Linked DNA regions of Homo sapiens: region 1 is linked to region 2. The links are contacts of gene promoters, found by promoter capture Hi-C in blood cells and fetal thymus (Javierre and others, 2016). All regions are on one chromosome and are shown on one strand. The core of a region is centred on a gene start or on the middle of the fragment in contact, and the rest is flanking DNA. Distances in the headings are between cores, read along the strand shown. Region 1 overlaps FDX1 (ferredoxin 1). Region 2 holds the start of FDXACB1 (ferredoxin-fold anticodon binding domain containing 1).

Region 1 (3,979 bases), core at 1,480-3,979, 1.4 Mb before region 2:
GTTTTTGTAGTAATTGGGAGTTATCTTTCTCAGATTTGTTTTTTGGATTTGGATATGTCAGGTTGTTTTAAAGGGGAGCACGTCTATTTCCTCATAATCCTGCTGCCCTCTTTATTGGCACAATTTCTATTCATGGTCTTATCATTCCTCTTACAGACTTTGGAGCTACAACTGGATTTTCCAGTTCTTACTGTGTTAATGAGACTTGTGCTGTAACTACCGTAACTACTAATCACATGTGGCTATTGAAGTTTAACATAATTAAAGGTAAATAAAATTAAAGATTCAATCTCGTAGTTACACTAGCCACATTTCGAGTTCTCAGTAGCCACATGTGGCTAGTGGCTACTGTATTGGACATTGCAAGTATGTGTAGAACATCTTTGTTATGGCACAAAGTTCTTATAGACAGACAGAGCAGTTCTAGAAACTGTAGTTCTGTCTTTGAAGTTTAACAACTCGATAAGCTATCAGTAATTGAGAGTCAGAAAAACTCCTTTTACTCTAAAATACCGTGACACAAGGGGGTTTGCAGTGATTCAGGTAGCAAAGATCTTTCACGTGTATTGTTTCGTATGACTCTTAAGACAATTCTATGAGGTAGGGAGGGTAGATAAATGGGAATAAAAATTTCATATTAAGTAGCTGGCAAAACTAGGACTAGAACTCAAGAAGTTTTTGCGGATTTTAAAAAAATTTTAAATTTCTATTTATTTTTAAAATTTCAGTAGTTTTGGGGGCACAGGTGGTGTTTGGTTAATGGGTTAGTTCTTTAGTGGTGATTTTGGAGGTGTTGGTGTACTCTTCACCTGAGTGCAGTGGTGCCATCATGGCTCACTGCAGCCTACACCTCCCAGGTTCAAGCGATTCTCGTGCCTCAGCCACCCGAATATCTGGGATTACAGGCGCGTGCCACCACACTCGGCTAAGTTTTGTAGTTTTAGTAGAGATGAGATTTCACTATGTTGACCAGCCTGGTCTGGAACCCCTGGCCTCAAGTAATCTGCCTGCTTCAGCCTCCCAAAGTATTGGGATTACAGGCGTGAGTGACCACTCCCAGCATAGGGTCTACATCTTCTGACTCTTAGGTTCCATACTCTTTCAACTTAAGAATTACATTTTTCTTTCGTTTCCGCCTCCTCTCCTCTTCTTTGGTAAACCTGTTAATACTCTTACTTGGCAGTTTTTTGTAGGGCTGTTTACCTTTAATACAGACCAACAGGTTGGGCTTCTTAGCAAAAGGGCTTGGTCTTTAAATAACAGTTATTAATCAGTGTGTGTTGAATTCTACTATGTGTTACGTATTTTGCATACATTGTCAGAACTATAAGATTAATGTTGTCCAATTTTATAGAAGAGGAGGCTGATGTAAGAGATTTCGAATTCCTTTGCTGTAAGCTTAGCTCTAGAGTGCTTCAGAAGAACAGCAACGCTGAAACCTCTGGCTTTCAGTAGTGTGTATAAATGATGGAATTCTTTCTAATGTGCTTCCTGTAGCTTTAGCTACCAGGCATTCGTTGATGTCAAATCTCTAGACTTCTCTGCTGGGCTCAGACCCATACCCATATTGCCATCTGGTGTTTGGACATTCTCATCTGGCTTTTTCATTATTAAATTCAGCAGGTCTAAGCTTCAACTTATTTCTGTCTTCCCCAAAGTTCCTTTGGTTCCTGTCTTAAACCTAGGTTAAATGGTACCACCTAATTGTGTGAGCTGGAAATCCCAATGTTTTTCTTTCCGCTTTTCAGTTTATCTTATGTAGATGGTCACTAAAACCTTTTGGTCTACCTCCTGGATGTCTGTTAAGTCACTGCATTCTCTGTCCCTGATTAGTTTATGCTGTTTTGATAACCTCCAAAGTGGCCTCCCTGCCTCTAGGGTATTTTCATTCTCAGCCATTGTACTTTGAAAAAAATGGCAGTTATTCATGTTGAAAATTATGAATAATATGTGGGAATACTAGTTTTAAAGCATGTTTTGGCTGTGAAAAGAAGTTGGAGAGCGCAGGCCCTTTTGAGGAACATTCTGGTACACACACACACACCCTTTTGATGAGTTTTAATGAATAGAATCCTGTTTTTTTTCCCAGTGTTATAATATTAGGGAGGGCATTATCCCAGTGGGGCTTCAGTTGCCTCATTTGTGAAATGGGATCACTGGACTTGATAACTTTCGAGATAGTTATGGCTCTGAAATTATTTAATTCTGAGTTTTACTTAAAGATTTGTTTGATGGGCTATTGCCATCTACTGGTAGTAATAAGAATAACAACTCATTATTTTAAGTTGAAGAGAATCTTTTCAAGTGTGAGGTAAAAATTAAAATGACCAATGGTGGAGGAATAAGGATCTAGTTTTTAGTATAATGGCTTCTCAAATTTTGGAGGGATGTTTGTGAGAAGTGAAGGAAATTTAAGTCAGCTAGCTGATAGTTAACATACTATCTTAAAAAAACATGTAAGGAGGTATTTATCTTACAGATTCAAACAAATAAACTTTTTCTAGTCCCTTTGATTTGTAAGTATACAATGTGGACTGAAATGAGATGTCAAATACGCAGAAAACTACTAAACAACATCTCTCAGCAGTAGTATTCTATGTAGCACTGGAAAAGCAATCGCCCTATTGATTTTTTTTTTTTTTTTTTTGGAGACAGAGTTTCACTCTGCCACCCGGGCTGGAGTGCAGTGGTTTGATCTCGGCTCACTGCAACCTCTGCCTTCCGGGTTCAAGCGATTCTCCTGCCTCAGCCTCCCGAGTAGCTGGGATTACAGGCATGTACCACCATGCCTAATTTTTGTATTTTTAGTAGAGACGGGGTTTCGCCATGTTGGCCAGGCTGGTCTTGAACTTCTGACCTCAGGTAATCCGCCCGCCTTGGCCTCCCAAAGTGTTGGAATTACAGGCGTGAGTCACCATGCTCGGCCATGATTTGCTTTTTAGAAGCTCACTACAACCCTGGTCTAGTCTTTTATGGACACATTCATGTTTTTCAGAGAGCTGTGTGATGACTTTTTTTGTTTTTTTTTTTTTTTTTTTTTTTGAGACAGGGCCTTGAGCTGTTGCCCAGGTTAGAGTGCAATGGTGTAATCACGGCTCACTGCAGCCCTGAACTTCTGGGATCGGGTGATCCACCTCAGCCCCATGAGTAGCTGGTACTATGGGCAAATACCACCATGCCTTTTATTTTTCATACACCTACAACCATCTCATTTTTATTTTTATTTTTTGTAGCAATAGGGTCTCTCTGTGTTGCTCAGGCTGGTCTCAAACTCCTGGGCTCAAGCAGTCCCCTGCCTCGGCCTCCCAAAGTGCTAGGAGTACAGGTATGAGCCACCACACTTGGCCTTTTCTTTTTTAAATGACAGGGTCTTGCTGTGTTGCCCAGGCTGGAGTGCAGTGGTGCAATCATATCCCATTGCAGCCTCTTCCTCCTCCTGGGCTCAAGGGATCCTCCCGTTTCAGCCTCCCAATTAGCTGGGACTACAGATCACATCACCACACCTGGCTAATTATTTTATTTTTTGTAAAGATGGGATCTTGCCATGTTGCCCAGGCTGGTCTCAAACTTCTGGCGTCAAACAATCTTCCCACTTCAGCTTCTCGAAGTACTGGGGTTACAGGTGCAAGCTACTGCACTGGCTTGTATGAGAGTAAAATAGAGTTCATGAGTGATAATAATTGCCAAATGTTTTATAACTGTGACTATTAGGGAGACATATACTGAGGCCACCAGGTGGCGTTGACCAGGTAGTCATTGCCATTTCCTGTAAGGTAGTAGAGCTTATTACCTGGTAGGTGGGTAGATATATATGCCTTTGATTTCCAAATAAGCTTTGGAAAGAAAAGAAAATACCTTCGGCTAGGCATGGTGGCTCAGGCCTGTAATCTCAGAGTTTTAGGAGGCCAAGTTGAGAAGATGGCTTGAGGCCAGGAATTTGAGACCAGCTTGAGCAACATGGTGGCACCCCGTCACTACA
Region 2 (3,847 bases), core at 1,112-3,611:
CTACCTATATCCAGTGCACTTGTACCCTGCCACAGCCTTACAGCTGAATGGATACACGTCGCTTAAAATGAGCCCCCCCAGGGCTGCCATGGCAACCACTTGCCAACTGTTGTGCCATTCTCTCTGGGGCTTATCCGCAGGAGTTCCACCTTGTCCTCTACATAATGCCACGTGGACTTCTCCTTCCTCTGCAAGAACGTCTGCACAGCTAATAGGGAGAAAAGAAACACTAACTAATTATCATAAACAAGCAGAAATTACCACAGGAGTTGGCAACATACACATGGTTTGCCTGTGAAATAATTAAAATCCAATCATACCTATGTGCAAAAATCTATTAGACCTCAAAAAATGCAAAGAAAGTAGCTGGAAGTAAATAGAAGCATAAATTAAATGTTCAACCCACTCACTGATAAGATTGGCTGACCAGGGTCTGCTTTGCATTTGTGTCATTCATGCATATGTCACAGAAAGATCAATATCTGCACAGTTCCTATATATGATTCATTGCTTAGGCTGTTTCTTCCCATTTAGAAAGTTCTTTTCACTGCCCTCCTGAAATTCAAATACTAGTTTAAAATACCACCTCTGTCAAAACTTTATTGACAGCTATGCCCCATCGGACACCTCCAATAGTATCATGTCTTGTGGTATAATCATGTAAAGCACTGTTTTCAGTTCACAATAATTTTATGAGGCTGTTAGTTACTTTTTTTTTTTTTTTTTTTTTTGAGATGGAGTCTTGCTCTGTCGCCCAGGCTGGAGTGCAGTGGCACGATCTCAGCTCACTGCAACCTCCACCTCCCAAGTTCAAGCGATTCTCCTGCCTCAGCCTCCCAAGTACCTGGGACTACAGGCACGTGCCAGCACGGCCAGCTAATTTTTATATTTTTAGTAGAGGCGGGGTTTTGCCACTTTGGCCAGGCTGGTCTCAAACTCCTGACCTCAGGTGATCTGCTCACCTCGGCCTCCCAAACTGCTGGGATTACAGGCATGAGCCACCACGCCTGGCCCAGTTAGTTACTATTAATATCCCTAGTTTACAGTTGAGGAAACGGAAGCATGTAAAGATTAAGTAAGCTTGCTTAAAATAACAACTGTTGGCCGGGCGTGGTGGCTCATGCCTGTAATCCCAGCACTTTAGGAGGCCAAGGCAGGCGGATCACAAGGTCAGGAGATCGACACCATCCTGGCTAACACGGTGAAACCCCATCTCTACTAAAAATACAAAAAATTAGCTGGGCGTGGTGGCGGGCGCCTGTACTCCCAGCTACTTGGGAGGCTGAGGCAGGAGAATGGCGTGAACCCAGTAGGCGGAGCTTGCAGTGAGCCGAGATTGCACCACACCACTGCACTCCAGCCTGGGCGACAGGGCGAGACTCTGTCTCAAAAAATAAAAATAAATAAAAATAAAAAAATAACAACTGTTAAGTGGTGGGCTGGGATTTGAATCCAGGCAGTCTGGCTTCTAAGTGCACGTTCTTAGCCATTAGACTATATGGCTCTCATTATTTTGCACTGTCAAAAATAAATGATCCTCTTTTACACACCCAAGAGTACATTATTTGTACTTTCATTTAGCATTTAGGGTTTATATATCTGTCTTTCCAACTAAACTTGGGGTTCCTTTGGGGCTTTATAGTCTCTTCTAAACATATCATAGTAGCTTGCACGTGTGCCTTATGTTTGGGTACAGTAACTATGTTATGGACATCTTAAACATTTTCCTTGTGAGGGCGCTCCTTTCCTCACCTTTGGAAAAATTTGGCAAGCAGTTCCCTGTTCTTAGCTACGCCAGCTTTGCGTCCACAATGCGGGAAGATGAAATAAATTTGATCAAATTCTCTCTCGTGCAGTTCAAAGACATCTGCCAGCTGGGTGCAGTCCACACCGAAACGTACATCGATACCTGGCAAAGATAGTTTGGGGGCGCAAAATATAGACAGGAGGATGCCTCAAGACATGGAACAGAAAAACTCTTCCTAACTTAAACCGTGCAGACCAGCCCAAGTCTGGGCACAAAGCCGGCTTTATGTGAATATCCGTGGGACGATCAAGAACAATCTCCACGTGGGTTACATCCCCACGCCCCCACCCTTTCCACTTTGGGACGCGCCGGCCGCTGGGCGGGGTTTCGCAGAGGGGCGGGCTCGCTACCTCGCTCGCGCAGGCACTGCAGATTCTCCCAGGCCAGTGGATCCCGAGCCAACTCGGCCGGGCGCTGGAGGCAGGTGGCGGTAAGTTGAGTGCTCTGATCCAGGGTTTCGCTCAGAGCGGCGGCGAAGGAGAAATTCCCCTCCCCAACCAACAGGAGGCGCCGAGGGGCCATGGCCTCCACGGACTCCCGGCTCGCGTTCTCTGTGGCGCTCGTTTTACGTCACTTCCTTCACGGATCTCTCTCCGCCCCGTCTTCTCCCGTCACTAGTTGATGACGCACCCATGGCGCCTGGTTGTCTAGACGAGCCGGTGTACCGACTCCCCGGTGGATGATAACTATGAGTGCAAAAGCAAGACGCGCACTTTCCTGTCACCTCGCCCTTTCACCCCCTCGGGAAGATCAAAGTGTCTTTAGCCCAAGCATGGCCTTGAGCGACTTCATCACACCTGCATGAGGTCACAAGCAGTCACTAGCGCAGGGGGGTGAGGCGAGTTCTGGGTGAAAGAAACGGGGCGGGGCTGAGGCCAAGGAAGAGGTTGGACTGTGTCTCGCATGCTCCTGACGCAGAAGGTTTTGAACCTTTTTTCACCTCGTCTGAAATGGCTGCCTCCCAGTGTCTCTGCTGCTCAAAATTTCTCTTCCAGGTGCTTAAATCTCCTATCTTCTATTCGTTCAAGAAAGAGTATTGAGTGTCTATTGCGTGCCAGGCCACTGTGAGGGTGGTTACGATATGTGGATGAACAAAATGTGGCCTATGATTTCAATGAGCCTGCAGTCTGGTGGGGAATGCACAGAGCAAAACAGGCAACTCTGATATGGCAGGGTGTGTGCTCTGGGAGCACACAGAAGAACGTTACCAAGTTTGGGGGCGAAGAGGGTCAGAGAGTCCTTGGATGAAGTAAACCCGAGTTGAAAGCTAACAGGGTAAAAGTGCATCTTAACTGAGTCAAGAGGCGTGAAGAGGCAGAAGGAACAATATATGCAAAAGCTTGATGGAGAAACAGAATAGTTGAGTTTGGCTGAAACACAATTGGAGGGAGAGTAACAGATGAGACTGAAGAGTTAGGCAGGGGCCAGGTCATAGGGAGCGTTGTAAGCCTTTAAAAAAAATCAACTTTTATTTTACAAATGGGGGTACAGGTACAGGTTTGTTACGTGGATATATTGCACCCAGGTAGGTTGCAGGTTTGCTACATGGGTATATTGCACCTAATAGTTTTTCAACCCACACCACCCGCCCTCCCCACTCTAGTTAGTAGCCTGGAGTGTGTGTTGTTTCCATGTTTAGGTCCATGTTTGCTCAATGTTTAGCTCCCACTTATAAGTGAGAATGTCAGAGGTATTTATACCAGAGCAACTCCGTCTTGAATAGGGGCTAGGTAAATAAGGCTAAGACCTGGGCTGCATTCCCAGTAAGTTAAGGCATTCTTAGTCACAGGATGAGATAGCTCAGCACAAGATACAGGTCATAAAGACCTTGCTGATAAAACGGGTTGCAGTAAAGAAGCCAGCTAAAATCCACCAAAACCGAGATGGTGATGAGAGTGATCTCTGGTCATCCTCATTGCTACACTCCCACCAGCGCCATGACAGTTTACAAATGCCATGGCAAAGTCAGGAAGTTACCGTATATGGTCTAAAAAGTGGAGGTATGAATTAATCCACCCCTTGTTTAGTATATAATCAACA

What was found. Contacts are between HindIII fragments. The CHiCAGO score rates a contact against its expected background, and 5 or more counts as called.
Region 1: a contact is called between a fragment that was not itself captured here and the fragment with the promoter of FDXACB1 in region 2, in 3 of 17 cell types (naive B cells, naive CD8 T cells and total B cells). The highest score is 10.3, in naive B cells.

Annotation. Positions count from the first base shown.
Region 1 is chr11:110,431,707-110,435,685 of GRCh38, forward strand. All of the region lies in intron 1 of FDX1 (ferredoxin 1), which reads left to right. Among named protein-coding and RNA genes, the nearest start is that of FDX1, 3.7 kb to the left of the region's middle. The HindIII fragment of the contact is 2,203 bases long and covers 1,629-3,831 here.
Region 2 is chr11:111,876,804-111,880,650 of GRCh38, forward strand. FDXACB1 (ferredoxin-fold anticodon binding domain containing 1) reads right to left here and starts at 2,362. Exons shown (of 5, transcript NM_138378.3): 1 at 2,158-2,362; 2 at 1,753-1,909; 3 at 5-208. The coding sequence starts at 2,329. CFAP68 (cilia and flagella associated protein 68) reads left to right here and starts at 2,738. Exons shown (of 4, transcript NM_022761.3): 1 at 2,738-2,802. The coding sequence starts at 2,758. RefSeq lists enhancers at 2,030-2,649, 2,146-2,615. The HindIII fragment of the contact is 2,066 bases long and covers 1,079-3,144 here.